Regions from separate parts of the Homo sapiens genome. Here all the other regions are linked to region 1. Evidence: promoter capture Hi-C in 16 types of primary human blood cells and fetal thymus (Javierre and others, 2016). All regions are on one chromosome and are shown on one strand. Each heading gives the region's core, a stretch centred on a gene start or on the middle of the fragment in contact. The rest is flanking DNA. Distances are from core to core; before and after follow the strand shown.

Region 1 (4,333 bases), core at 501-3,000:
CAGTTTTCAGAGATTTCAGAGATGGTCTGTTTTTTTCATTTTTGACTTGGATTCCACCTATTAAAGATGTTTAGAATCAGATGTTTTACACAGACACTTTTACTATTTTTAAAATATTTCATTATACAATATTACAGAATAAAAATCCTTACAACCCTACCAGTTTAAGTTATTAGCATTGAAATGTATTTCTTTGTAGTACTACTTAGGATAGAGGCAAAATGCCCTATATACTTTCACAGACCGCATATTGTAAAATAATAGTTGACTCAGCAAGAAATATTCGTGTGTTTATTCCTGAGGCACGGAACTATATAAAACTCTTTTGAAAGATTTTCTTTTTTTAGGATGTAAACTCCATGGGGATATTTAATACTCAACTATTTATTGAGCATCTGCCATTCTGCTGAACATTCAAAACTGGTGTTTAAACTTCATTTAGCGATGAAAGAATCCTCTGTTACGCAGAATAACCTAGTCCTCAAGGGTTTCAGACTGCTCAAGTTTTAGTTTCATATAAAGTTTGTCTGCATATTAACAACTAAACGGTCCATTTCACATACAATTTGTCTACGTATTAAGAACTTAACGGTCCATTACGAAGAACTAAACCTTTCATTATTTTCATTAGAAACAGATCTGAGATCCAAGCAACTGCTTTAAAAATTAATTTTTCAAACGCAATCTGTTCTTAAATTGGTAGTTACTACACACACACAAACACCTGTACAAAAAACTTAGGTGCTGGAATGTTTCACCAAATAAAGTGACTGAAAATGGAAATTTGCTTTTGTTTCCCTGTTTGTAATGTTGAAACCAGCAATGGGGTGTTTGAAATACAATGCTTTCCCCCAACTTATGAGGAAAGGAAAATAAACTTTCAAGGGTAAGACCAAAAATCCACCCACAATCACTCAATCTAATCCTGAAGCGAAAAGCCACGAGCGCGTCTGACTTTAAATTGAGGATGCAGTCCGTCGCCTCCAAGGGCCCGGGCGGAGGCTTAGCATATGCGAGAGCCCGGGAGCAGACAGCGCCGCAGTCCCGGCGAGGTCCCGGATCTGCACATTGTTTGCTAGTTTTCAACCGAAGGCACGACCGGGAATCAATCTGGGACCGCCGCTGTAAACGGCAGAGCGCTCGAGGGGCCGGGTCAGGATCCGTTCCTTCTTAGGCAAAACACTGAACGGGGGCTCCTTCCTTCAGACCCCAGAGGCCGGTCAGAAGAAAAGAAGCTGAGGACCCGGCGGGAGAAGTCTGAAGAATCAATGGTGGAACCACGAGGGGAGGAAAGGATTAAAGGGACTGCAGGCGGAGGAGGGGCTTCTTACCCTGGAAATGTCCTTTACTGTGGATCCTCATGGCTCCGGAGTTCATGGCAGTCGCCCGGCACCTACATGCTGGGTCCGGAGAAAGTGTCGCACCGGGCAGCCGCGAAAGCACGGCTTCCCCCGGCCTGTTGACAGGACGGCCGCCTCTCTCCTTCCGCCAGCTACGGCCTCTACGCAGTAGAGGTACCGCGTCTGCAGGTCGGGTTTCCGGGGCCGGATCCGGCTCCAAGGCGCGGAGGAGGAAGGCGCAAAGCACAAACGAGTGGGCTGCGGCGGTTGAAGATTTGAAAACGCGTCACGCGGCCGCGGCGCCGATACGCGCGCCCCGCCCCGTCTCACGCCACGCGCCGTGCCCCGCCTCGCGCTCGCCCCTCGTGCCTGCCTTCTCGCGCTGCGCGCCCCGCCCCCTCACGCCGCCGTCCTTCTCGCGCCTCGCTCTGGCCCTGCAGGTTGTGTTTCCGCCTCTACCCCGCCTCCATTCCGTTGCTCTCTCAGTCTCAGACCCGGGCTCTCGGTCCGCCGCTTCAGGTCTTGGCGCAGCCTCAGAGAGTTGGCGCGGCTCTGTGTTGACCAAACCTAGTGGATGCAGTTAGCGCCGGAGCCCGGCCCCGCCCGTCACCAGGGTTATTCCCGCCTTCTAGGTTTGCCAGGACTGCCGGCCCTGCAGCTGCCTTCTGCCCCAGGTATGCTAATTTTCCACTGGTCGGACGTCTGGGAAGCTGAAGGCGAGGGGCTTTGGCTGAGTCCGGACTCAGCTCTGGCCGGGCCCGGGGCCGGGGCCGGAACCGGAGCCGGACAGCGGCGGCAGCCGCAGCCCCTGCTCAGCGCGCCCTGGGTCGCACAGCAAGCGGGGTTTTCCCGCGGTCACTGCCGACCCCACCGGCTGAGGACAGCTGCAGAGGGACGTGCGGGAGTGAGGGCGGCCCCGGGGGGCGTCTGAGGGAGGGTCTGGCCAGGCGGCCCCGGCCTTGACGGCAGCGCCACCGCAGAACGCCTCCAGGTCACTTTGTGTCCTTGGGTAGTTGGCTATTTGCGCTGTCCTGTTGACTTTTATTGTATTCAGACCTGTTTTCTTTTAGTTGAGTGTAAGTTTATTTCAACAATGAAGGAGTGGAAAGTAACATCTCATTTTTTTTTCCTGTAAAACAGAGATTAAAGATCAAATTAAAATGCTTGTGAATATATTTTAATTTTATAAGTTGGAACATGCCTCTCCAAAAAAAAAAAAAAATCTGTTTCTTCAGGAGGAAGAGGATATTTTGAACTATTTTGCATTCCTCTACTCCAGGCCATAATAGGCACTCCTGTAGTGGTTGATTTTTTTACCTGGTAGCTCAAGGAAGTCAGAGTATCAGCGTTACGGTTTTGCAGGTAGGTACCTTAAAGAATAGACAAGGGTGGGTTGTGACAAGATTAGCTGGAGAACGCAGAGAACAGGTTTGCTAAGGGAAATGAGAGTTTGGTTTTAGACAGGTTTATGTTGAAGGGCCTGGGGCGACAGTCATGGAACTATGCTTATTAGACAGTTAAAGATGTTTATGACTCGAGAGAAATGTCTAGCAGAAGTGGACATGGGAAGAGGAAATAGAGATTGATTTGATATCTCTCCAATAAAATATTTCTGCATCAAGGTCTATTGATGTCAATCATGGGGCAATTCATTAGAGGTTAACAGATCTTGAGTGGTGGAAGGAAGTGTAGTTTGAACAAACATATTCAATATTGTAATTTCTATGGGAAAAAACTTATTTTCAAAATATAAGCTACAGAGAGCACAAAATGTTTATATTTACAGAAAGATTTAAAAAGTTGGGAAGCACTAATATAGAATGTAGTTAAAGCTTTGGGAGGAAATGAAATTGCCAAGGAGAGCATGTGAAATAAGAGAATTGATTATAAGCGTCGTTGATGAAATAGTGAAAGAGATGGAGAAAATGCCACAGAATTGGGAAGAGACTGCAAACATTGGAATCATATGGGCTTCACTAACTACTTGGCCTCTGGGTAATTTTGAGCCCCAATTTTAATCTATTAAAAGGGGGTAGTACTTCTCAGGGATGTTGTGAAGATTAAATGAACATTTTTGAATGCTTAGTACAGTGCCTGGCACAGAGTAGAGCTCCTTAAGAGCTCCATAATTACTATCATTCTAGTGAACACTGCACCAGTTCCTTCATCCCCAGGACAGATAAGGTTAAGACTTGAAAAATAAGTATTTGATTTTGGCGTTTCAGGTATCCTTGGTTTCCTTAAGGGTAATTTGAGTAGGTGGCAGAGATAAGTACAGTACTAGATAAAAATTATAATCTTGAAGTTCAGACAGGTTGAGTGTACTCTTTCAAAAAAATTTGTTATTGTAGGAAAGTATAATGAAGGGAAGACTGGATCTTTGGAAGGTTTAGAGGATGTGGGAAAGATTTTTAAGCATGCTTCTATTGAGGAACTTTTTTTTAAAAAAGGAAGTCCCATTTTATGGTCTTGTGAAAGATGAATTGTGTGTCTTATTTGCCGTGAAGAGGAAGGACAGTAACATAGTTGCACCCTATGCGGTTAGACTCACCCTCGACTGCACTGAAGATGGTAATTCCAAGCAATAAATAAGCAGGAAGTCCGCTTTATGCAATAGTTAGTAATTTTCTAATCTATTATCCAAGGTTAGTTTTTAAAATATTACTGGAACCTAAATCTGTTAGTAGCCACAGAAAGGATATGGCTGTAGTCAGTAAGGATAGAAACCTCCTTTTTATTGTCCAGTAATCAGGTCTGTTGGTAAGAGGGTAGGGTTTGTCTTAAAGTAGATCTTGAAAATATGCTTGAAAACATTTCTTCAGAGGAAGGGTAGACATTTAAGAAGAAGTGAATGGGGGCAGGGTTATTTATGGTGAGAAACTTTGTTCAAGAGTTATATTAGGCAAAATTGGAGAACATTGAGCAGAATCATGATCTAATTAAATGAATATGTGGCTGTGAATCAAGAGAAATGAATTTTATTCATTGCTGGC
Region 2 (4,333 bases), core at 857-3,356, 900 kb after region 1:
AATCTTTGTTGGTTTCCTTATCTGTAAAAACTCTGCCTTACAAGGTGGTCGACAGCACTAAGATATTGTGAACTTAGCACAATGATTGATATGTATCACTAATGAGTGGCAGCTATCATCACCACCACACTCATCAACCTTGACTGAGATTTGAGACATACATAAATATGAGTTGGTATTATAGAATTATTGCCTATCTCAAGTATCTGTTAGCACCCATAGTTGCAGTGACAGCAACCCGACTCACACAGTTTAAGCTTGAAAACACAGAACTTATGCAGGGCAGTTCTGAGGACCCCAGGCCCTAGAGTACCTTAACCTTATGCATGATGGTTGTAATAGATGCTTTACATTTTTTAGAGAATCTAATATTTGTGACATTTTGGTGGTGTTATATGTTGATTGTCTTTTCTCTGGAGCATTAGTCGGATTTTCCTTGTTCTTTGTATATCCAAGTGATTTTTGATCGTATTCTGGATATTTTTAATATTATGTTGTGAATCTCTAGATCCTTATAAAATCCTCTGTAGACGGTTGGTTTGTTTCAGCAGCCAGTTGACCTGGTTAGGTTCAGACCACATGTTTTTTCTCCCTTTTATGTGTGGTGGTTCCTTCCAGTGTCTATTCAGTTTTCAAAACTTTGGCTGTTTTTATCTTTTGTGTGTGTGGAGGGGGCAGGTGAGGGGCAGGATCATCTGCCCCTTGCTCAATACTCAGGGTTTAGTTCAGATAGTGGTTTATATTGTAGTTCAGCTCTCCATGCCTTTGCTATACTTCTTTGAGTATATTCCATATTTGCACAGTTTGAAGGTGAGCCTGGGACTGTTACTTCATAGACTGAACCAGAGGATTATCTTCTCTATTACTCTCTGGAATATTTTCTCAGGACTGCTTTTTATATTTCCTCTGGCCAGAAAGATGGATTATTGTATAGTTTTAGCCTGCATGTTTTTGTGCAATTCTACTTGCCTGGGATGAAGTGACAAGTGAAGGAAGGAAGAAAAAGAATAATAAGGATTTTCTCCTAAGCTCTTTGCACAGCTGAAGTCCCTGTTCTAGTTATCTTATCTAGAGAGAGAGGTTTTCTCTTGGCATATTAGGTGTTTGCATGGTTGTTGTGGAATCAGTGCTGTTCTAAGCTGGTGCTGGCCGTGGGGAAGGACTGGAAGAGAAAAAGAAGAAAAAAAGCACATGGATATCCCTCTCACTTTCTGATCCCATTTCCCCTCTCCCAGTACTCCAACCACAGGGATCTCTTTTCTTATTCTTCTGGCCAGAAAAATGGGCTTCTCTTGTAGTTTTTTGCATTCTGAACCCACTGTGCAATTCCCTGATTTGGCCCACCTTCAGCTCAAGGAGAAAAAGGAAAGAAAAGAAGCCCGGTAACTCCCTACCATTGTATTAGCTGTTAGAAAGTTTTGACTTTCTTATTCAGACTACCTGCTGTTTATTTTGCAGAGTCTTGCTTTTATATTTTGGGCAGAGTGGGAAAAAGAAACTGTAGCGGACTTTCTCCATCTTGGTTAGCACCAGTGTGAATAGTTTATTGTGACTGTCCAGATAGCATGTCCATATTAGGGCCTGGCCAGGGGTTGGCCCACTCAGAACTGCAAAGTGTAATGAGAGCAGGGGGCATGCTGTTACCTAAAGAAATAGGAAAGCCATGCCAGGCAGACAGAACAGCAGGTGTCTAATGTTTATGATTAAGAAGAAAACCTTTTAATAGATGTTTTAAGGTTAATTTTAGAAAGTATAGTTATGACAGAGGTATTATTAGGGTTACATTATTATTTTTTAAAAAATCTATTGATTTAAGAGATTCTTACAGGGTCAGTTGAGTGCAAAAGAACTTAAATAACTCACTTATTTTTATTTATCTCACAATTTGCAAACAAAAACATAATTTTGGATGTCTTAATGTTCAGAGCCATTTATCACTTATACTATTTCTGTACAAAGTAAAGCTCAATTTCAAGTGGCAGCATTGGCAAGAATCAGCTTTTACATTTAAATTGAATTTTTATAATTTTTTTTCTGTCTGAGATCTGCCAGCGGCTTAGCTGAATTCAGATGTGGAGTTATCCCTTCTGAAGCCAAATTTTGAAGTCAGCGAACTGTGCTGTCTGTGCTCCATCATCTCTTTGTTCTCTTTTCTCTCGTTTGACTATTCCCACTTTTCTTTATCCACTCTGTAGCAGAATCCTTCTTGTATCTGCTCATTTCGAAAGTACTTAAGCGTTAGATTTTCCCTTCTTCAGAACTTATCTGACCTGTGTCTTACTTATGACCTGGCCTTTAAAGCCTTGCTAGGTGAATGTCACCCATCAGGGAAAGTGATTTAGACTGAGGTGCTAATGAATGTTATGGAATAATCCTTCAGTGGTACCATTTGAATTTTCCCATGTCCCACCAGATATCCTAAAGTAAGGAGAAATATGAATTTTTTTTTATGTCTTGGCAAAGCAGTTAACTGAACTGAGGGAAATAAATATATTTTAACTGTAGAAAATTTTGATAATACATAATTATATAGAATAAAGATAGTCACATCACTTAGTTAACTACTGTCAATCTTTTGGTATATATGCCTATAGTCTTTTTTCATGTATCCAACACACACACACACACACACACACACACACACACACACACTACAGGGGTTCAGATATATTGCTTTATAACCTGTGTTTAACACTTAAATGTGTCATAAATAATTTTGTTATTAAATATACCTTTGTATTATTTTAAAATGGACTATATGAAATCTTATTATGTGTGTACCCTAATTTATTAACCAGTCTCTTATTGTTTCACAGTTAAATTGTTTTAAAGTTTTCACTATTTTAAATAATGCTATGATACAAACATGGCTTCCTTGGATTACATGCCTAGAAGTGGAATTGAGGTATCACGGGGTATATATAATATATTTGGAAATTTTGATGTAGTTTCTCTTGGTGCTTATTAAATAGTAAGCAGTTGCTGAAACCTTGCAAAAGCAAAGACGCCCTTTTAGTTTCAGCCTGATTAATTTAGAAGAATTTATTAGCTTATATACAGTTAAGTTTGTAACCATATATAATTAGACAGAACAAATGGGTTTCCAAGGATTTTGCTTTTCCCTTTTTGGAAAATTATACTTTCATATACCGTTGTGATTTTAATTTGGGTTTGGAATTAAAAAAAAAAGAAAATTACTATTACCCAGTTACGTGAAGACCCTTCAAGAGGTAGAGGGAGGGATCCTCCCTCCCTTCTAAGAAATTTTAAATTTTAGTTTATAAAGTGGTAGCTATCTTTCTTGCTATTCTTATGTTTGGATGTTGTCATATAATAGAAACCAATACTACCTTTAGACCAGGCAAGAGGGGCCCCTGCCTTGGTCTCTACTATAGAGGGTCCTCCTCTAGCTGTGTTCCTCTTGTTGCTTTACAGTCTGTGGGCCAAGGAGCTGTGGCCACCTGGATGTCATGCCCCACCTTCTTTTTATCATACTCTGCTAACATGACTTTGAAATTACCTGCCTAAAAGATCCAAGATTGCTTCCAGGTCCTTTGTGAGGTTTCCCAGGTCCATCTTCCTGATGTATTAATAGACCATACCATTGTGCAGGAACACTTACCAGAGTTGGATGTGCAGGCTGGGGTTGCCTTTTGTATGTGAAGCAGACCTCTCAGGGTGCAGGATAGGTATTGAGGAGGAAGAGGCACATTGATTTATGCTCCTGGCCTTGGTCCTGCAAAGAGTAGGGGTGGACCTGAAAGAGAACCTGTTACACAGTGATTTGTTATCATACAGATTTCCACATGCTATTTCAAGATGTGGGCAGAAAGAGCCTTCCGGGCAGAGAAAAAGTCACTTACATGCTGGGGTCTGGAGGCAAGGAATTGTATAGCATGTTTGATCCTGTAGTTTCAATATTTCATATATGAATAATGTTAAGAAATGAAGCTTCAAGCAGCAGATCGAGAATGAATTGAAAAAGGCATTTTATGCAATCCAAGATTGTAGACTTTATCCTCAGGCCAATGGTAAGTCATTCTGGGGTTTTGAGCAAGGATGACATAATGAGATCTTCCATTTAGAACTGGCTGTGGAGTGTAGTAGGTGTGGGCAAGAGCAGAAGCAAAGAGGCCCATTAGGCTGATGGTGGTGTTCATCTGGACAGCAGGAGATGAGATTGAAATAGGTCAGTAGCCATGAGGATGACCCTTGCCTACTATGTGGGACCATACTGTGGACAAATTCAAGTGGGTTAATGTCATGAAAATTATTTTGGAAAGCTTACAGAGTTATGCAAATGTTAATATTTTTAATGACAATAGTAATGATC
Region 3 (4,333 bases), core at 666-3,165, 820 kb after region 1:
ATCTGGCTTTTAGAAGAACGAGACAGTGTGCCAAAAATTTACAGGGGGTGTCATTGGTTCTTGTATTGGGTGTTTATCTTTCCATTTAGTGTTCAGAAAGTGCATCCTCTTAATGAAAATCAATGAGGGGAAGGAAGCAACATTTCTGACCTACTTTGATTGTGTTGGGAGGATATATGGAATAGATACTGTTTTTAGGAAGATTGTTAGGAATCAGGGCGATGGGTCGTTTTAATTAATGTAGCAAAAATAGGTTAGCCAATAGCCCCTCTGGGAAGAAAGGCCAGACCCTCTTGTTTGTGTATGTTGCTCTAACTTCTGAATTTTACCGAGACTTGAATTACAGAGTATCTGTGTTCTACACATCATCCATCATCTATGGATTTTCGTCTTTCTCTCCTACAGTACAGGTCCCAGGACAGACTGAAATGAAAGAGAATCGGATCAAAGGCTTGTGTGCGAACACACAGCAATGTTGTAATTGGGGAAATCAGGGCAAGAGCTCAACAAACAGCTGTGTTTAATTTTAGGGCTTTTTAGTATAATGAGCTTAATCTATATTCTACAACTTTACATATCACCTGGGAATAATCCATTATTCCAGGTTTCCACAGAAAGCTGCTTCTTGGACATCTCAGATTGAACAGTTGTGACAAGATAAACTTTATCCTCCAGCCCCCAACTTCTAATATGCAGAATATATTTTTCTAAACTGAAAAGTCTTAAGCTTCTGATAACATCGATTCTTAGTAATGAAAATCTGCTTGAAGTAGGCGAAGGTCAGGGTCAATAGAAGTGATGCCTTTGGTCTCTACAACTAGACTAATCTTTTAGATGAACACATGTCCTACACATGTATACCTAGAAAGAAGAGTCTGCAACCTAAAACAAAGATTGAAAGGAGGGGCAGAGAGATGACAGAAGGTTCAGGAAGGCTGGGTTCACTTGATCACAGGTCCTTACTGCATTGGCTTTAGAAATTGCATGTGACTCATCCGTTGAGATCTGAAATTTACATTTTCCTTCTGAAAAATGAGAATAAATAAAATATATAGGAGGACGCTATTGAGCCTGCCTTTGGCTGTATGTTTTTATAAATGTTAATGCACAGATCCATTTATGTTCTTCCTGATGACTGACAAGTAAGAGGAACTAATGGGAGTTAGAAGTTCTTGGAAGTAGAAGAGGCCTAGTGACCTCCCAGGGGTTGAATCTGTTTGATATCTGGTCTAACCAGTGGAGCTAATTTACAGAATTGGTCATTGTTTTTCTCTGACATTGTTTTTAAGAGGAAAGTGGGGAGGGCAAGTTATTTTCAGACTTTGAAGGTAAAGGAATGTTTGTGCTGGGAGTGGGGAAAGGGTATCCTCTTGAGCTCAGCCCTTTCCTCTGAATACAGTTATGGGATTGTGGGCTAAACGCCTGTGAATAAAGACACAGTTAAAGTAACTACTCTGTGTTCACTCCTGCTCGTTTATCATTTTCCACTTTTTGTTAACATTAAAGGAGGCAAATGCCACAAAGGACAGACTATGCAGTGGGGAACAGAGTGAGGGCAGTTAAAGTGAGGAATTTTCAGGCTGAGAGCTAAAACCAACTCTCAATGTGAGAGAATGTTGAGGAGTATAGAAAAAGCTATAGGCCATTTTGAACCTCATTTCCCCCCAGTAGTTTGTGTCACCCTCATTTATTAATATTTTTGTAGAAGTAGTCATGTTTAACAAAGTTACATAAACTCTGATTTTCCTGCCTGGTTTTAGAGGAAAGCAACTAAAGGAAGACAAATGCAGAGAACTGGCCTGGGAGTCATCCAGTTATAATTGCCTGAGTTCAGAAAAAAGGCCCTTCAAAAACTAGGTTATGGGTAAAAGTTACATTTAGATTTTTGCAGAGGAATGGACTCTGGGGTGAAACTCATAAAATACATATTCCTTTGTCAAAGTCTTTGGATTATGAAGTCGAAAGGGGGAGAAAAGTTATTGTGTTGGAATGTTCAGCTGGTGATCAGATCAGCAGTGTGGAAGCACACGCACAAACAGGAAGCGATCATTTGGGAGACAGAAATAAAAGGAAAGTCAAAGTGCTGGCAGATGAAGCACAAGAATAGGATGTGACTTTGGAAAATGGTATTCAAAGGAAATAAATGAGGCCTGGACATCAGAAAGTATAGAATTCCTCAGGTTTTTGTATGGGGTGAACTTATAAAAGGTAAATCTTCTTTGGGTTTCTTGGCCTGTGTTTCACTTATAAAATGTTATTAATGAAACATGACCAATTATTTGTATTATGAGGATGAAATGAGATTAATATAAGATAAAGGAGAAATATAAATATGAGGGCTGATTATTGCTAGATTAGTAGAGCTAGATCCTGATATTTTGGGAAGAGTCTACAGTGAGACTCCAGAGGTTCCTAGGATAGGCCCATCCAAGACTTGGCATGACATTTTTGACTCAGTGAATAATAGGACTTAATGGGGCTGCCAGAGCAAAAAAATATAAAGGCCAACAGATAATTCAGAGTTGCAGTAAGGTATCAGAAGATAGAAAAGTACATGAGAGTAAAAAGAACAGAACTAATTGGATTATGTCTGTATTATTTACATTTGGTAAATTAAATCACAAAATAGCTGATTCTTAGTTCACTGCTGTAAAATCTTGCATAATGCAATTCTGCTGTTCTCCCTGACTACTGAATGATGAGTTTTGCTAACAGTTTTTGTTCCACATTCAGTTTATACCATGTGCTAGACAAAATGTCAGATATGAAATTAGTAATTTAAAGAATATAATTTAATTGGATAAGGATGAGACAGATATGTAAACAAACATTGCAGTTAAGTGATTTGAAGCCATGAAAGAAGCAATGGGCCATCATATCTACTGAGGGGGGTGGGATCAGAAAAGGCCCTATGGAGGAAGTGAATGAGACTTAATTGATAAGTAGGAATTTGCCAAGCAGACAAGGGTCAGATGTGAGTGTAGGCTAGTTTGGGGGAAAGACATTTCAGGTGAAGAGCACAGATTGAAAAAGGGCAGAAACATGAAACAGCATTGTATTGTAATTGGTTCTAACTGAAGTACAGCATGCAATGAGAAGCTTAATGAGAGATGAATCTGACAGGCAGGCAGGAGCCTATCATAAGGGACCTTATATCACACTAAGAAGCTGGTCTTCATTTGGTAGGCAATAGGATGCAGTAGTAGGACTTCAAAAAGAGGAGTAGTATGCTTTAGATAGAATTGGCAGTGAGTGGATGCAGAGGGTGAGAGAATGAAATGTTCTAACTTGATTAGAGGATGGTGCCTCTTAACCTCCCTGAGAAGAAATGTGAAGAAGATGGGATAAGGAGCTTGTTCTGTCTGGAAGGAGTGACTTTATGTAGAGCTGTTGAGTAGGCAGTTAGGTATTATTAGGCCCTGTTCCTCAGGGGCATGGTGTGGGCTGGTGTGGTGACCTGGGAATAACTTGAATGGAAGACATTGTTGAAATGACTGGATTGGTTGAGATCATGCAGGGAGTGAGAACAAAGTGCTGAAGATAGGACTTGGGTTTTACCTACATGAAAGGGGACAGAAACCGAGGAGTTCACAAAGGAGACATGTAGCAATGGCTGGTAAAGAAGAAATGTGAGTGTGGAGTTGTGGGAAAAAGAAAAGCCTTTGAAGAAGATAGGGCTCATTGTGTGTCAGTTGCCCGATGAAATCCAAATAAGATGATGACTGAAGAGAGAAGATTGAATTCTGTGATTAGGTCACTGGTGCTCAGCACCAGAGTGTTTCCTATGGGATGGTGGAGATGGGTTGAGTGTTAACTGGGAGGTGAGATGGTGGTGATGGAGTGGAATTGTGTTATAGAGCCTTCCTAGATTTGGTAAGCTACTGGGTCTTCAAAATCCATGTAAACCACAAGACCTGTAATGGTCATGTTTTTTGTTTCAGAACTTGATGGGCACAGCTGAGAAACATCCTTTCTGTAGGAAGTCCCTGAAGGCCATGGGCTATGGGTGAAGCTGTCAAAGGTTCTACAGTCACACTGTTATTGAAGGAGTTAGGACTCAGCCTCTGTTTTCAAGCAGTTAACGTAACTAATCTTTCCTGTTAATGCCTGTGGAGGTGAATTTTCCATTTCCAGTTCTTATGCTTAGAATCATTTCTCATGTTTTAGGCAAATGCGAGCAAGTATTCACACCATCAATATTTACAATGTAAAACCAAGAGTTGACAGATCTGTGAAGTGTCATATTTTAGCACAAGGGATGGAAATAGCAGAGCATAGTATAGAGTGGCACGTTTTCCTATCATAGTGTCTTCTCCAGCAGAGTCTTGCATCT
Region 4 (4,333 bases), core at 1,240-3,739, 730 kb after region 1:
GTGAAAGCAGAGCACTGCCAGGTGATAGGCTGTCCCTTGCAAATGTTAGCTGAATTTCTCAAAAAACTTTATTGTGGTAAGAACACAACATGACATCTGCCCTCAATAAAATTTTAAGTATATAAAACATTATCATTGACTATGGGTACAATGTTGTACAGCAGATCTCTAGAGCTTATTCATCTTACTTGAAACTTTATGCCCGCTGATTACTAACTCCCCATCCCCTCTCCCCAGCCCCTGGTAAACCACCATTCCACTCTGATTCTAAAAATTCGTCTATTTTAGATACTTAACATAAGTGAAATCATGTAGTATTTGTATTTCTGTGACTGGTTTATTTCACTTAGTATAATGTCCTCAAGGTTCATCCATGTTGTTGCATATTGCAGAATTTTCTTCTTTTTTAAGACTGAATAGTATTCCTATTCCTCTGAGACTAGAGCTCAGTGCATGCCCAGACATAGCAGAAATGGGCCATCTTACCCCTTTGCCATGAGCTTTGATTTGCTAATATATGGCACAATACCTTAACTTAGCAGACATTTAAATGTTTGTTGATATTAAAGATAATTATCTTAAGCCAGAAGACTTGGAAGCTAGCCATTTCTATTCTTTGGCAAGAACAGCTGACTACTGGCGATCACACAGTATTTTTCCAGATAGTGTTGCTACTTGGACAATTCTGGACTAAAACAAACACATGTTACCTATTTTTCAAGTGGAAAGAAGTTATTTTAACACATCACATATTTGGTGTTACTCTAAACCTTATTGCCCAAGTCTTGTGCATCTAGATGCAGTATTTTAAGAATAGAAGCTTGTCATTTTAGCCAGCAGATGTCCCTATTGTTCAGCAGGAGTTTTTTTTTGTTTTTGTTTTTGTTTTTTCTTTCCCAAGTAGTAACTTCAACAGTAGATAGAAATTTTGGGGCCTTCATTGCTAATGATATGCTGTGGCAGACCAAGGACAAGCCTCAACAGTAATAAAGCTAAAGGGATAAGGATTCTGCTTTGAAATCAAAATATGAGAAAGCTCTCTAGAATTAAAAGACTTCTGGATTAATCCCCTTCCCTTCTATTCACTGTACATTTAATTCCTTTGCACAGAATATGCAGTGAAACAGGAAGAAACAAGGAACTACGATAATGTTTATAACTTTCAGGAGTTTGCACATTTGTGATACACTCGGTCATTTCATTCAGCAGCTCTTCCTGAGCACCTCCTTTGGGCTGAGCACTATTTTAGGCACAGGAAATATGATGGAGAACAAGAGAGACAACCCTGCTCTCAAGGAACATATATTCTAATGGAGGAGCTTACATTATAGTAGTATAAGTGCATCTTTGTGCCAAACTTTTTTGGGTAAAGTACTCACTAAATTACTGGCAACTGCCTGTAAAACTTGCTTATAATTAACAATGAGGGAAGAAAACAAAATATGAATCAAATTGATAGCAGTAGGAGGCAGACAAATTCCTTGGTGGATGGGACAGGTCCCAGTGAAACCTGACCTTCAAGCCAAAGACAGCCTGAAGCCTGAAAACCGGGCCGCCAGTTCCAAGTAGAATCCAGTACCCAGAGTGAGAACTTTCTTAATGCCTTTGAATGAATCAAATGGTGCTTTTTCCAGGCCCACTCATGGACCAATCAGCACGCACTTCCTCCCACCCATGGGCCAGTTAACACACACTTCCTCCATTCTGAGCCCATAAAAACCCTGGACTCATCCACGAGTCAACACTACCTGCCTGCAGATAGGAGCTACCCACTTGCGTCTCTTCTCTGCTGAGAGCTGTCTGTCACTCAGTGAAACTCTTCTCTGCCTTGCTCACCCTCCGATTATCCACGTAACCTCATTTTTCCTGGATGCAGGACAAGAACTCATGACCTGCAGAAGAGAGGGCATGAAAAGGGCTATAACACTTTCCTGGCTGGCTCACTGAGCAGTGGGCGATGACATGCTCCCACTTGCTCGACTAGGGGAGTGAAGAGCAGCGAGTCTTTTGGAGGCCCAGACCTTGGGATTCCCTGAGCCAGAGCTGTAACACTATAGCCCTCCCGCCATCTGCTGGTGTTGGGCAGCTGCCCCACGTGATGGGAAGCGGTGGTGGGGCTGAGCCATCCCGGGAGTGGTGGGCTGGAGTGAGGCAGGAGGACTGAGTGGGCTGAAACATGTCCCCGCCCTGGTTCGCTGAGCTGCAGGCAGTGGGAAAGAGAGCTGTAGCATGACCCCCACCCCCCGCCCTTGGGGGGCTCTGCAGTTGCTGGTGACTCCCAAGTTTTCAGGTGCCACCATGTTCCCTTCGTCCAGACGCCGGTGCCCACAGTGGAAGCCGCTTGAAGTATGCCTGGTCCAGCTGCAGCCTCTCGCGTGGAGCAGGTGCCTGTGCTGGTGCCTGGAGCTGCCTGCCTCACTGCAGCATCCAGTGTGCCTATCTGTGTGCAGTGGCCAGACCTCGCGCTCGCTCACTCCCACACCCCTCACCGCTTCACGCCTGGCCTGCCATCCTCAGGCATTGGGATCAAGGCTGGTAGTGCGAGCCGAGGGCAGTCTGCCAGGCCAAGTGGGCAGAATGAGCCCAGCTGGTGCGAGCGAAACATAAGCAGAGGTGCTGCCGGCCACAGAGGTTTCCGGCTGGTGACGTGACTCTCAAAGGATCCTGTGACAAAATCACTTGGTATCATCAGATTAAGCTAAATTACTAGTATTAGAAAAGATGGGTCAATGTGTTTCTTCTTGGAAATTTCTGTTTTCATGTTTCTAGGCAAAGTGTTTTATGCACAAGAGAAACACATACGTCCTCTTGAATCTCCTTTGGCTGGTGTTCTCTGAATCCCTTTAATAGACATACAACGTATGTATATAAACACGGGCAATGTAGAGGTCTTTCTGGACCTGAAATTGTTAAGAGTTAAGATCTGAACCAACAGAAAACACTGCCAAACATGTTATTTCTCCTCTAAAATTACCTGAAATATCAACCCAGTCTTTTAATACCTAGTTTAAGAATTACATTGTAGTAAGTTGTAGTAAATATAACTGTATCAAATTAAATTCCATAGCATAGTACTTTTGTTACAGTGACTGCATCTTAAGTGGGCAGAGGTGAAGTCATATAATATATAATTTTTAATTTAATAAAATTGGGGCTAATAGGATTAGGAAAGGAGAGTTTCTATGGGGTGTTTAGACTTGAGAATAACCTTATTATATATAATCATATTTTGTAATTTCAGCAGTATTATATCTATTTTAGCAAACCTAGGATAAGGAAGATATGTGAATTCAGCAGTCACAGTATCTCTAATATCTTGTTTTCTGTGTTTATTTACATTTCTTAACCAGAAATATACATTTACGTAGAACTTTTGGCCTATGTTAATTCAACCTGGTGTAGCAAGACAAGGCTATCGCAGTCATTTTCTGAAATAAGGTGAAACTCCTTTCTCTATCTCTGTTGGATAAGCTCTGTTTTTGTTGAACAGAAGTCCATTTTCATATGATGCTGGAATCTTTTTTTCTTTTTTCTATTCTTTTGCCGAACAGCTGTCTGCCATGGAATCATTCTCTGAGAACACTCTTGATCTTGAGCCTGTAATAAATTTTCACAAGAATCTCCTCTGGGAAGGAATCCATGGTACTTTACCATTGTAGACCAATTGCTAGAGAAATATGTGATACAACAATGTCTCATACATAATGTTATAAATAACTGTTATTTGAAAAGGTCACAGTAAATATAGTACTATATAAGAAATCCGTCTCCTGCTATGGGTAACACTGAAAATAAATCTGAAGCCTTTCACTTTTAGGGCTTTCTTATATGTCTTTACCACAACAATATTTTTGATAAAGTAATAAATCGAAAGAAGGATTTTAGATTTCTCTTGGGTAAATGGCTTACAATTGATGGTAGCATTCAACAAGTGACCAGGGTTTTCCTACCATTCTCATATTCAGTTGGTGTTACAGTGTGATATTCTTAAATCCTTTATTTATTTGAAAATTTAAATAGAAAAGTGGTTGATTGTTTTTCTTTTTATTGTTGTTTAAACAAGTAAAAAGTGAAATTCAATTCCAATGAAAGAAGTCATGGATCATACGCTGCAGGTTTGCAAGGAATGTAACTGTTTTTCACTCTGTAACAAGCTTTCGGAGTGCTTCTCACACCCTGATGGATGTTCCTTTTAATTCTCTATAAATAAATGACCTTTACAGAGATTTTTAAGCATAAACTCCCTCAATAGCCTGCCTCCATCCCCATGCATTCATCTGTGCTCATTCTAAATTCCTTCCCTCCGATCCTAGAGATGTTCCTTCTCTTATTC
Region 5 (4,333 bases), core at 516-3,015, 710 kb after region 1:
TGGGAAGATTAAAGTAGGCAATATACATAAAAGTATTTAACGATATGCCTGGCACATAGTATTTATTGTTAGCTAAAAAGAGGTGGTTTGACTAAATGAAGAAAAAAGCAGTAAGTCCAAGTCTATTAGAAATGCCAACTGAAAGCCTTGGAAGCTAAACTTTGATTTTAAAAGGGAACTCTATGGCTCTTAATACGTAGTGACTTACGTGGAAGTGCAACAACTGATATGCAAGGAGTAGAATCATCAATACTCTGATCATCCTCAGAGGACAAACAAAGCCTTTTATGTGGAGGTTCAATACTATCTTCTGAGTCTATTTCATCCGCTTCTAATGGAAGAAAACAAACAAACAAAAATTTCAAACCAAAGAGGGAAAATAAAATCTCTAACAATGGCTCTACAATTTTCTTATCTATTAAAAAAATTTTCTTACCAATTTGCTCATTTAACTAAACCTAGTTGTGCAAACAGGATTCAAAAGGACACTGCCTTTCTATGCCTACTGCAATGCAGTATTCAACTCCTCAAGGCGGTGTCTTAAACTTGAAAGAGAAGGGAAGCCCGGGGAAAACTGCTATCTCTCTTGGCAGTAGAAGCAATATGTGCAATGACACAGACGTATGAGAAGCTTAAGGTATAGGTATGTTAGGAAAATAAAGATAGTGTGATCTGCTGGAACACAGGTATATGAAATGCGGCAGGAGGTAAGACTATGAGGAAAGCAGAAATGACTGGGGCCTATGGGCCAAATTAAAGAACCTGTACTATATTCTAAAAACCTTGGGAAGCTTTATGCTATTAAATGTATCAGGAACAATTTCATCAGCTGCTTGAAAGACGAATGATAGGTAGGACACTGGTTAAAAGGGTATTAGAGCTACCTAGATGAGAAATGAGAAACTGAACTAACAAAGGCAGGCTTGAAACAGAGAGGATGCAATGGATTTAAAAAACATAATACTATCAAGAAGTCTTCAAATGAAATGATGCAGGTGATGAGAGAAGTAATTTATTCCCAACCACATTCATGATCTGGACACTAAGTAATGAAATTCACAGAGAAAGGAAAAAAGAGAACTAGGTTTAGGAAGTACATGTAAGGATTGTTTGGGACATATGAAACTTAAGATGCCTATGAGAAGCACAGAGAATTCTGTATAAAGACAGATTCTGAGTCATCTTTATAGGTAGGTGCTACTTAAAATCCTAACTTTGAATTAAATAACCTATGAATTATATACAGAGTGAGAAGAGAAGACATAACCTAGGTTGAGTAAAGATGAACTTCAGAGCACAATAAATAAATGACATAAATAATGAGCAAGTCGGGGAGTAACAACAAAATTATCAGCTGGAAAGCTATTGAATCTTAATTCATTGTAGATCACCATATTAAGTCATACTGAAATGATTGTGTACAATTTTTTAACACAGTTTCTAACAAAAAAGTCTACTTGCATTGAGGAATAATTCTACATTTTCTAATGTATTAACTATGCTGCTGGTACCAATTAGTATAAAAAAAGAAGTATATATTATAGTTATTCCATCATTACCTTTGGGGGCTCAACAGATCCTATTTATAACATAGCAACAAGATTGACAAAAACTAACATTTATGTTAAAGAGATAATCTCCTTTTCTACTGTGCAGCCTAAACTCATAGGCACCTAGACCCCTATTTGGGCAATAGGGGTCAAAAGTGACATGGAATTCATAAATTCAGAGAGTCAGAATTATATGTCAGCAAGTTCTCCTACCATTCTGAGGGCAGTGAAGAATGAGATTCCCTTCTGTGTCCTGAGTCAAAGTCACAGAGTTCACAGTTTCTACTGTTACTGTGTCAGAATCCTCTTCCACTGTGCTCATACTCAAATCTGTACAAGAACAGATTCCAGATCAGGATTTCAAAAATTATTCCCAAATATGAAGTATTCCCTTATAATCCCCTGAAATACCACACACATTTATTTGGGTATCTGCCTACAGTGTTCTTCATGTAAAACTGCAATGAGAGTTCAGATTTCAAAAACTGCCTTTCACAAATTTATACCCATTATTTAGAATTAGATATCTCAAAGAATCTGTTTGCTCTGATAAATTTTAAAAACCTACAACATTTGTAATACTTTAAAAAACGTTTTTGCAACATCCAACAAAAGAGAATCCGTCTTATCAGCAAAACTTTCCCCACTTTTTTACTGTGTTTTTATGGACAGCTTTGTAGGTACTTAACTTCTTTTTCTTTAAGCAGAAGATTCATCAAAACTTTTATCTTAAGAATTATTTTTTCAAAACATTTTTTACAGGTATTTAAGCTCTATTATCTGAAAAACAGGAACACTAAATAATTCTTGCTGTGTTTTCAAAATATTGAAAAAGTGCATACATCCATCACTGACCAAATTGTAATTTTAAAAGACGAGTTAGTCCTTCTTTTGAAACAGGTAACTTTGAACATCGTTCAAAGTATCCTTACCTGCTATTTTACACAAATATTATTTTCCTCTTGTTCAGACAGATGGAATAACTAGTCTCAGAATATAGCATCTCATGGCTAGTGGGGGGAAAGGTATGAAACTATAATCAATAGCCTGGTTGAAGTCTTCAGAAATACCTTATAAGGTTTAAGGAGGTTCTTGCCTCAATACTCACTTTTGGCACGTATGTTTTACCAACTAAATAATACAGAGGACACAAACCCTGATATAATTACTCAATGTTTATTAAGCTTTTTTTTTTTTTTTTTTTTTTTTAGAGAAGGCGTCTTCATTGTTGCCCAGGCTGGAGTGCAGAGGCTATTCACAGGCACAGTCTTAAGGGTCCTAGAGCCTTGAACTTCTGAGCTCAAGTGATACTCCTGTCTTAGCCACCCGAATAGCTGGGTACAGGCACGTGCCAACACGCCTGGCTCTCTCTGGCTCCTATACACAAGATATTAGTCCATTCATATATTTACCACTGAAGTGAATGTATTTTCCTTTGGCACAAAAACTTAAATATATTAACATTTACATGGTAAAGATCCAATAATTCATTAAAATTTTACTATGCAAATTACTATTTGAAAAGGACATCATTCATTTTACAATAGTAATTATGCCATTCCCAAAATAAAGGTAAATGGAAATCATGATCTAGTTTTGACAAATTTGCAAATCATGTGAGATCCTTGCAACAGAAGCAGACTTACCTAGACAACGGATGGATCAGCTACAGCCCTTCCCACAGAATCAAGTTGCCTTCCCTTAGCAACCAGCATCACTTTCATGTTACCCAGATTGTTTCTCTCCCATGTTCCTATCTCCGCAACACTCTGAAAAAGTAACAGCATTACACACAATAAGGCTTAATAAGAACAAACGAATAGTATAGCAGTATGCTGATGACAATCTAGGCCCAAGCCTCTGTGATATCTCATCTGGAAGAGTAAGACAAAACCAGAATTCTTTTTTAAGCAGAATTTTTGGAAACTGGCCTCTAAAAGTATTCCCCAATGAAGGACAGAAATGATGACTATTCACAGGTAGTTTCTTAACCCAAGTGGCTCTCATCAGGCAGACAAACGTTCTCTGAAAAAAAAAAAAAAAACAGGCTCAGCTATGCTAGTGATTCTATGAACTGTAGACTGTGGTACCATTATGTAACATGATGTGTATATCAATCAATACAGCACCATAAATATTATTAGTAACTATAGTTTTCCTTTATAATTATTAACACCTCTTTATGTTTTATCTTAAAGCATTAAAAATTATATAGTACCCTATTCATCCAGAAAACCCTTTTAAGATGACAGATGAACAACCCTATCTAGGAATCTGTGGAAAAAACAAAAACAAAACCTTAAACAATTAGGCCAGAAAAGACAAATTACAAGCTCTTGAAAGCAATGTGAAACTTTATGAAATATGAAATGGTTTTTAAAGGTTTCTTTCAATAAGCTTCTCATCTTTATCCTCAAAAGCCAACCAAAGACCTTAAAAAAAAAAAAAAGCACATGATTTGAGGTTCAAGGGGACGTTTCAGCAAAAATTAGGGATTAAAATTCTAATTTTTGCGGCATTCTAATTAGATCCTCTTTGCATTTTCAGTGAAAAAGGTACAGATCCTGCTGGAGAACCATTAAGCTATTAGATTTCATGTTGTTATCATTCTGAATCCATTAATTTTTTAAAGGCTGGCTTTTTTGTAATACCTACTACAAAAGATGGGAGAAAGAAATGTAAAAAAGTAAAAAAAAGAAGGTTAAAATCATCCATAAACTTCCCAACGATTTTTCATACTCTTTGTAGTTCCTTCTAATCTCATCTCCCGGTGTATGTGTGTC
Region 6 (4,333 bases), core at 633-3,132, 690 kb after region 1:
TGCAGGGGTGGGCTAACTATGGCCCACAAATCCAGCCCATTGCCAGTTTTTGTAAATAAAGTTTATTGGAACACAGCCACACCTACTGGTTTATATATTTTCTGTGGTTACTTTAGCACTACAACAGAGTTGAGTACCTGTGACAGACACCAGAAGGCCCATAAAGCCTAAAATATTTACTATATCTGTTCCTTTATAGAAAAGGTTTGCTAACCCTTGGTATACATGATTAAATGTTTCTAACGGTAGGAAGTAAAGAGGAACACACTAAGACCAACCTGCAAAAAGACAGGAACTTGGTAAAAACTAGTTTTCTTGTATATATGGGTAAGCACTATGGATGTCTGGACTGGTAGTCCAAAAATACTAGGCTTTAATCACTTCCTAGCAGTATAAAACCTGGGTAAATAACTTACTTTATAAACTAATGTTCAGGTATTTTTTTTTTTACCTGTCCTGCCTACCTCATACAGCTGTGAGGATCAAAAGTGCTTGTAAACACAAATAAATGTTAAGAGAGCATTATTTCCGAAGACCACATTTGGGGACTGAATAAAGATCAGACAGTATAATGTCTTTACATGTGTGTCAACTGAGGATCAGACTTTATCAACGTCTGCTCAAGGTTAAATAGAACATGCTAGAAATGTCATCTTTTTTGGCGCTTGCAGTCATACCTATAGGTAAATTATGTGAAATATGATTTGGAACTTTTACTGTGTAATGTTTATTATAGTTTATTAAATTCTGACTACAACACTTCTCAGCTATTTAAAAGGAATCTAATGCCCTTACCAATAGAAATGCACTTGATTTGTAATATTCATCTTACTGTTTGATGGATCCATAAGATCACAGCTATAATAATTTGAAGTGATTCCAGATAAAACTAAATCAAGGTTAGCAAACTACTGTCAGGGACAAATGTAGCTTAAGGCCAATATGGTTTTCACATTTTCAAAGGGTTGTTTAAAAGCTAAACAAAGACTATCCCTCAGAAACCTATGTGGCCTGCAAAGCCTAAAATATTTACTATCTGGCTCATTACATAAAGAAATTTGCTGATCCCTGTTCCCTAACCTAAAAAACGAAAAGAGATTTTAGTTAGAATGCTACAGGTAATAGGTGGATTGTAGAACACTTAACTATATTCATTTTTCTTGCTGTAAGAGAGAAAATTCTAAATACTATTTAAAATGATGCTATCAATATTAAGGTATCATTTATAAAATGTTTGTCTTCCCAATGGGTACTGTCAACTCAATAGCCAAGAAAAACTAACATGCCCAATCAATTTATAACCAATAGCAACTCTCATATTTACTTGGACTAGTAATTTTAGTTGCTTTGCAATCCTCAGACTGTAACAAAAACGAAAAGAAATCCTTCATTGTTGATTACACTGGTAGAAAGATAACCAAATTCAGATTAGGATTTTAAGAATAAGAGGTATGGTTAGTTTAAATGTCTCTAAGGTAACTCTGACAGTCAATGTACATGGATATATGGTGTTAAACACCAATATGTGGTTCTGCGATTCTCAACCAGGGAATCATAATGGTATATTTGGAAACATGCAGGGTGTTTCTGTTTCTCATAATGACTGGCATGTACTACTAATATTCTGTGGGCAAGATCAAAGGACACTGAATATCCTGCAATGTAAAGGACAGTCTGCAAAAACCTGTCGCTCAAAATGCCAATAATCACCTGGTTGAGACTAACATAGTGATTGGAATACTCTTGGGTTATCTTTTCAAATGCAGGTAGCATATGTAGACCAAAAACAAGGAAGAATATGGTTCTGAGAATTTCATCCTCATTCCTTTTTTTGTCACTATAATTCAAGACTGACGGGAAGGGATAAAGATCAATTTGACTTATACCTAAAGAAGAAAAAAGTTCTCACTCTAACAATGGCTGGGTTCCCATAATCTCATTAAGCATAAAACTGTCCAAACACAGTTCCCAATAGGAAACTGGCCCTTTACTCCCTGAAGAAAATCATTCTTAACCTTGCCAAAACTCATTTCTTTACCAAACGACCTCAAATCAATCCCCAATTGATATGTCTTCTAGTGAAATTACTACACGACATACCAGTTGGTGAATTCTATTTCTTTGCTTGATTGACTGCTTTTTAGGTAGTTTTCTATCATTCATTCTAATTTCTATTTTTAATAATTTCTATTAAGTCATTAATTACAAAATCTAGAAATTAAGATGGTTTCAAATGGTTTATAATGGTTGGGCAACTGCTTATACATCCTTCCTGTCACACATTCATTGTGTGTGCAAATATTAACTGAACTAAACAAAATATCTTAGATGTCCTTCAGTTCACCGACTTGGGTAAATTTCTATTAACATTCTAGAAAACCAAAAGACATCAGAGCCATTAACCAAATCATATAGATCAAACAGCAAGGAATCTTGAAGATCAAACACTTACAAACATGGGTGATCTGGACTGGAATCTGCAATGCTGCCATGGGGCTAGAAGAGATGGCTGTATTATCTTCCAAGCGGGCAACTCTTATCTGAACATGCTGCACACTGGAATTGGTATTACTGTTTGGAACTCCAGATCCTGATTTATTCTCCAAAAGCGTTGGGTTGTTTTTTTGGTTCTCATGTAACTGTTTAAGACCTTTTATTAAGACTGAAGGGAGATGGGTAGACAAAAAGAACATTGATTCTCCGACAGACCACCATCTAAGCAGCAAGGGAGGTGGGGGGAGGTAAGGAGGGAAAGTATTTGGAATAAATAACTGCATACTGGATGTGAGAGCTTATAAAAATAAGATATTTTAAAAAACAACATATCCTGAGATTTTTATAAACATCGTAACAAATTTTAATTCTTAATATTGTTATTCTTGCCATCTAAGATTTATAGTGTTAAAAAAAGGTAGACATTACAAAGAACATGGAAACAGGACATTTTCTATTCTAGGGTGTCTTGATAGGATTATTATTTAGGAAGAATACTGGCAATGCTAAACAGCTTATTTTCATTTTTTAAACGAATAGTGTATGTTTTCCCCGCCAGGGCTGAAGGGCCCTTGACTGTTGGTCTAGAGGTAGCAACTTCTCTTTTCCAAACAGTAATATGGTATTCTTGCGCAGGGAAGCCAATTCTAGACTTTGCTTTGCTCTATTCGTAAAATACGCTTATCCTCTCTAACTGGATTTTTTAATTTAATTTTATTTTTAGACAAGGTCTTGCTCTGTTGCTCAGGCTGGAGTGGCATAATCATAGCTCACTGCAGCCTCGAACCCCTGGACTCAAGCCATCCTCCTGCCTCAGGCTCTTGCTCCCCAATAGCTGGGACTACAAGCACATGCCCACCATGCCTGGCTAATTGGTTTTTATTTTTTCTGTAGTAATGGGGTCTTGCTATGTTGCCCAGGCTGGTCTCAAACTCCTAGCGTCAAGTGATCCTCCTGCCTTGGCCTCCCACAGTACTGGGATTATAGGCATAAGCCACCACACCTGGCCTATACCTGGGTATTTTAAAAAACCACATTTTCATCAAGGCAAAGTTCCTCAGCATTAAATTTTCCTTTGGAATAATGGAAGTTAAGAGTGCTATAATAAGGGGAATAAATTTAGTAACCTAAATTAAACAGACTGTACAACTAAGTTTAATACCTAAATGCAAAACAGGCAACAAAAAGTATGCTTCACTTTAAGCAAACCCAACTTAAGATCTCTAGATTTATATAATTAATAAAATTAGAAAATTACAGAGCCTTTGTTCTACAAAATTATCACAGAATTTCTCTAACACACCTAGCTAAGATATTTGAAATTATACAACTCACAAAAGTTGACTTAAACTTAGGTTTTCAGAAGTACATCTTTGTACAAAATAAAAATATAGTCATCAATCACTTAAGGATGGGGATATGTTCTGAGAAATGAGCCATTAGGTGATTCTGTCATGGGATCATCACAGTGTACTTACACAAACCTAGATGGTACAGCCTACTACACACGTAGGCTAGATGATCTATACAGTCTATTGCTCCTAGGCTACAAACCCTTACAGCATGTTACTGTACCAAATACTGTAGGCAACTGTAACACAATGGTAAATATTTGTGTATCTAAACATAGAAAAAAAGTAAAAATACAGTATTTTAATATTGTGAGACCAATACTATGTATGACATCTGTTGTTGACTGAAAGGTTATGAGTGGCCAGCTATGCTGGCTCATGCAGGTAATCCCAGCACATTGGGAAGCCAAGCTGGGAAGATCACTTGAGCCCAGGAGTTGGAGACCAACCTGGGTAACATGGCAAGACCTCATCTCTACGAAAAAAAA
Region 7 (4,333 bases), core at 1,279-3,778, 650 kb after region 1:
GCACAGCCAGACACGCTGGCTGCTGCAGTTGGCTGGCGGCTCCATGAGAGGTTGTGGCTGGACCAGATGTACAATATACAGCTTCCACTGTGGGCACCTGTGTCTGGACAAGGGGAATGCTGTGGCACCCAGAAGCTTGGAGACACTAGGAACTGGAGAGTCCCAAAGAGGGTGTCACAGCCCTGGCTCAGGGAGCACCCTAGGTCTGGGGTTCCCGAAGGGCCACAGCTCTTCTCCTTCTCATCCTAGGCAACATGGTGAGTGGGGATGGGGGCATATTTCAGCCCTGTTTGTGTTACAGCGCTTTCAGTCCCGCCATTCAGTCCCTCTCGAGTTCTTGTCCCATGTACAGGAAGAATGAGGTGCACAGACAATTGGAGGGTGAGCAAGGCAGAGAGGAGCTTCTTGAGCAACAGAACAGCTCTCAGGAGACCCGAAGTGGGTAGCAGCTCCTTTCTGCAGGCAGGTTGTCTGGACATCTGTCCAGCTCTCAGTGGAGAGAAGACCCAGAGTGGCTAGCTCCTTTCTGCTGGCAGGTTGTCCTGACATCTGCGTAGCCCTCAGCAGAGAGGAGATCTAGACTGGGTAGCTCCTATCCACAGGCAGGTCATCCTGATGTCTGTTCAGCTCTCAGCAGAGAGGTGATCCACAGTGGGTAGCTCCATTCCTCTGGCAGGTCACCCCAAGGTGTGTCCAGCTCTCACTCCAGTTGGCTGACTCCACTGGAACTGACAGCCCAGCCCTCATGCTTCAGGCCATCCTTGACTTGAAGGTGGGGCTTCACTGGGGACCACCCCTTTCCACACAGGAGCCTGTCTGCCTCCTGCCTTCATCAATCATGTTGTCCACAGCACCCAGTCTGTTTGTGAGGAGGGCAGCCTCCAGGCCTCTTCCGAGCTCCCCTCAGTGGCCCCCATCAGCCTCCCTCCCATGCTGGTAGGCACCCAAAGTCTAGAGGGGGCCAAGGTGGCAGGGGGCTGGCATGTTAGCACCACCCTGAGTGCACACACACCTGGTTGGGTCATGACAGTGCCTGGGCTGGGCCTCAACTTTGCTCCAAAATCAGAGAGGGTGCCAGGAGGAGGGCGAGGCCAGGCAGCAGGAGCAGGCACTTCCCAGCCTGTGGGGGAAGGAGTCTTCCTTGGTCCCCAAGAGTTCAGAGATGCCCAGGTCCACAGCTGCAGCTGGGCAGCTGCAGCTGCACCCAGGAGGGCAGGGCTCCTGCCCCACCAATTCAGAAAGGGGCTGGGCTCCCACTAGTTACCTGCAGACTGATAACCTCCCCTGCTGCAGTAGACGTCTTTGCAGTGGGTGCACCAGATTGGCTGCCTTTGCCATCAACAAGGTCTTACTCTGTTACCCAGGCTAGAATGAAGTGGTGTGATCATAGCTCACTTGAACTCATGGGTTCAAGTGATTCTCCCACCTTAGCCTCCCAAGTAGCCAAGGCTTTAGGTGCGCATCACCATGCCTAGTTAATGGGGTCTCCCTATGTTGCCCAGGTGGTCTCAAGCACTTGGGCTCAAGGTGGGGTCTCCCTATGTTGTCCAGGCTGGTCTCAAACACTTGGGCTCAAGTGATCCTCCTGCCTTGGCCTTCCAAAGCACTGGGATTATAGGGATGCACCACCACACCCTGCCCATATTTGTACACTTGAAAGGTTAAATTGATATATTGCCCATTATTAGAAAAAGATGTCATAGATATGTTAAGCAATATTATTAACTTCTTCAGATATTTATTTTTCACTGTGAAGCTGGATGTTTAAGCAATAAGATTGTATTTCTGTCTAGTCTTCCTAAAAAAATTAGAGTGGCATTATTCTAAGAAAAGAAGTGTTACTACCCCCACTGTTATGTCTATTTAGAGAACAACTTAAATAGTATGGGAAAGTCACCTACATCAAGGCTGGCAGGTTTAAGCTTGAGTGTGTACAGTGTTTGTGTCGTGCTGTGTTTAAAATTATCACAGAGAAAATACCTTTGTGAAAAAGACTTTAAACCACCACTCCGTCTAAAACATAAAGGCCAATAATATCATTACATGAAAAACAGCTATAACTGTCCTGCATCTGTGAACTACATTTACATTTATTTTGTTTTTTCTTTCTCCCCTTTAATGTTAGGCCTCTCTCTTGTGGTGAAACAGTCACATGATGTCAGTCTCAGAGAGGTTTGAAAAACTATTCCATTGTGCCCATTTTACAATGAAGAAATGGAAACTCCTAAGGCTAAATGAATAACTGAAAAAAAAAAAAACAGCCAGGGTATGGTACACACATTTCCTAAAGGTATGCCTGAATTTTAAATAATTTACTCAAAATTATTATCAGTAATATTCTAGATTTTGAATGAAATAATGAAATAACAACTGGTATTAGTTCCATTACTTTTTCCTAAGTTTTCTTAAGAAATATAGTTCAAAACCTGAAAAATTATTTACCTGTCCTTAAATATTTTCAAATTCCTGACTCATGAAATTAATTAGTTAAAAATAATACACATGTGAAAAATCCAAAAGTTATTGTAGGAACTTTAGGAAATTGTTTATCTGCTCAAGAATCTATTTGCTCATATTTGAGAGGATTGACTTAATGAATGTATTTCTCTAATTTCTCTGGGCAAATTTTACACTTTCAAATTGAGAACAGTGTTTCAGCAATGTATGCTGCTAGACCAGTGCTGCAGATTTTATCTGCTTCAGTAGCACTGCCAAGTCAATTATTAAAACATCTAAAAATTATCTCTTATCCATTGTGGCTTATTCCAGTGAATAGCAGTTTAGAGTAAAAATCTATTTCACGGCTGGGCACAGTGGCTCAAGCCTGTAATCCCAGCTCTTAGGGAGGCAGAGGCAGGAGGATAGCTTGAGCCCAGAAGTTCAAGACCTGCCTGGGCAATATAGTGAGACCCCGTTCTCCACAAAAAGAAAAAAAAAAGACAAAAAAAAAACTATTTCACCTATTACATCTCATTTAATTCCTACAACACCTCTATGAGAGAGGAAATTTTTGTTTATTAGTGGACATAAGAGACAGCCTCTGAGATTTGCTCAAGGACACAGGTCTCACTACATAGCAGCCTTATTTAAAAATAGAGAACTCTCAATAATATCTATAGTTTAGATCAAGCTTGTCCAACCCGTGGCCCATGGGCCACATGCAGTCCAAGATGGCTTTGAATGTGGCCCAGTGCAAATTCATAAACTTTCTTAAAACATTATTAGATTTTCTGGTGATTTTTTTTTTAGCTCATCAGGTATCATCAATGTTAGTGTATTTTATGTGTGGCCAAAGATAATTCTTCTTTTTCCAATATGGCCTATGGAAGCCAAAAGATTGGACACCCCTAGTTAGATAATAGTATTGTACCAATGCTATTTTTTTTTAGTTTTGTTAAATGTACCATGGTTTTATATTGATAAGATGTTAGGGAAGCTGGGTGAAGGGTATACCCTGTACTATCTCTCTCTTCAACTTTTACGTAAATCTAGAAATACTTCCTTCCTTTTCTTTTCTTGTCTTTTCTTTCTTTCTCTTTTTTCTTTCTTTCTCTCTCCTCCCTCCCTCTTCTTTCTTTCTCCTTCTTTGCTTCCTTCCTTCCTTCTTTTGACAAGTTGCTGCTCTGTCACCCAGGCTGAGTGCAGAGTGTGATCACAGCACACCGCAACCTTGAATTCCTGGTCTCAAGCCATCCTCCCACCTCAGCCTCCCTGGTACAGTGACTACAAGCATGTGCCATCAAGCCTGCCCTCGCTATGTTGCCAGGGCTGGTCTTGAACTCCTGGCCTCAAGCAATCCTCCCGCCTCAGCCTCCCAAAGTGCTGGGATTACAGGCATGAGCCACCATGCCTGGTGCAAAAGTACAAAAATGTAAAAATAGATCTTCTAATTATTTCACAGTGTATTAGCATTTTATTTTATTATGTTATTTTACAGGGTCCAACCCAAGTTGGAGTGTAGTGGTGCAATCACGGCTCACTGCAGCCTTGACATCCCAGGCTCAAGTGATCCACTTTGGGCTCAAGTGATCCTCCCACCTCAGCCTACTGAATAGCTGGGACTACATTCACCTGCCACCATGCCCAGCTAATGTATTAGCATTTTAGATCAGTCAGAGTAGAATATAATTTTTCCTTTTACAGATGAGGAAATTGGTACTGACACTGACTTTCCCCAGCTCAGACCAGGCTCGAGTCTCCCAGTTGTGGAGGTGGTTGGTCCATAGCACCTGCCTGATATGCAAGGGGTATGTAGAAATCTCATCCTTCTATTCAAAAAGTTTTATCAGTAGGCCCACAGATCCTACCTACACTTAGGAGCACATACAGATTG

What was found. Contacts are between HindIII fragments. The CHiCAGO score rates a contact against its expected background, and 5 or more counts as called.
Region 2: a contact is called between a fragment that was not itself captured here and the fragment with the promoter of SLC25A40 in region 1, in 1 of 17 cell types (non-activated CD4 T cells). The highest score is 5.1, in non-activated CD4 T cells.
Region 3: a fragment that was not itself captured here is called in contact with the fragment with the promoter of SLC25A40 in region 1 in 2 of 17 cell types (activated CD4 T cells and total B cells); the score reaches 5.7 in activated CD4 T cells.
Region 4: a contact is called between a fragment that was not itself captured here and the fragment with the promoter of SLC25A40 in region 1, in 2 of 17 cell types (monocytes and total CD4 T cells). The highest score is 5.6, in monocytes.
Region 5: a fragment that was not itself captured here is called in contact with the fragment with the promoter of SLC25A40 in region 1 in 2 of 17 cell types (monocytes and fetal thymus); the score reaches 5.5 in monocytes.
Region 6: a fragment that was not itself captured here is called in contact with the fragment with the promoter of SLC25A40 in region 1 in 1 of 17 cell types (activated CD4 T cells); the score reaches 5.0 in activated CD4 T cells.
Region 7: a contact is called between a fragment that was not itself captured here and the fragment with the promoter of SLC25A40 in region 1, in 4 of 17 cell types (fetal thymus, M0 macrophages, total B cells and 1 more). The highest score is 5.6, in fetal thymus.

What each region holds. Positions count from the first base shown.
Region 1 is chr7:87,873,777-87,878,109 of GRCh38, reverse strand. SLC25A40 (solute carrier family 25 member 40) reads left to right here and starts at 1,750. Exons shown (of 12, transcript NM_018843.4): 1 at 1,750-2,014. It overlaps DBF4 (DBF4-CDC7 kinase regulatory subunit), which reads right to left and starts at 1,617. Exons shown (of 12, transcript NM_006716.4): 1 at 1,332-1,617; 2 at 1-57. The coding sequence starts at 1,377. RefSeq lists enhancers at 1,338-1,457, 1,645-2,154 and silencers at 1,518-1,777, 1,908-2,357. The HindIII fragment of the contact is 3,397 bases long and covers 1-3,174 here.
Region 2 is chr7:86,972,900-86,977,232 of GRCh38, reverse strand. The region is part of intron 1 of ELAPOR2 (endosome-lysosome associated apoptosis and autophagy regulator family member 2); the gene reads left to right. Among named protein-coding and RNA genes, the nearest start is that of ELAPOR2, 85 kb to the left of the region's middle. The HindIII fragment of the contact is 3,694 bases long and covers 260-3,953 here.
Region 3 is chr7:87,054,233-87,058,565 of GRCh38, reverse strand. The region is part of intron 1 of ELAPOR2 (endosome-lysosome associated apoptosis and autophagy regulator family member 2); the gene reads left to right. Among named protein-coding and RNA genes, the nearest start is that of ELAPOR2, 3.3 kb to the left of the region's middle. The HindIII fragment of the contact is 2,372 bases long and covers 730-3,101 here.
Region 4 is chr7:87,145,061-87,149,393 of GRCh38, reverse strand. No RefSeq gene overlaps it. Among named protein-coding and RNA genes, the nearest start is that of DMTF1, 5.2 kb to the left of the region's middle. The HindIII fragment of the contact is 3,334 bases long and covers 823-4,156 here.
Region 5 is chr7:87,162,481-87,166,813 of GRCh38, reverse strand. It overlaps DMTF1 (cyclin D binding myb like transcription factor 1), which reads right to left. Exons shown (of 18, transcript NM_001142327.2): 2 at 3,197-3,319; 3 at 1,764-1,880; 4 at 209-331. The coding sequence starts at 1,872. Among named protein-coding and RNA genes, the nearest start is that of DMTF1-AS1, 12 kb to the right of the region's middle. The HindIII fragment of the contact is 1,943 bases long and covers 794-2,736 here.
Region 6 is chr7:87,186,421-87,190,753 of GRCh38, reverse strand. DMTF1 (cyclin D binding myb like transcription factor 1) reads right to left here. Exons shown (of 18, transcript NM_001142327.2): 13 at 2,453-2,662. Among named protein-coding and RNA genes, the nearest start is that of TMEM243, 31 kb to the left of the region's middle. The HindIII fragment of the contact is 7,508 bases long and covers 1-4,333 here.
Region 7 is chr7:87,227,036-87,231,368 of GRCh38, reverse strand. No RefSeq gene overlaps it. Among named protein-coding and RNA genes, the nearest start is that of TMEM243, 9.5 kb to the right of the region's middle. The HindIII fragment of the contact is 1,208 bases long and covers 1,925-3,132 here.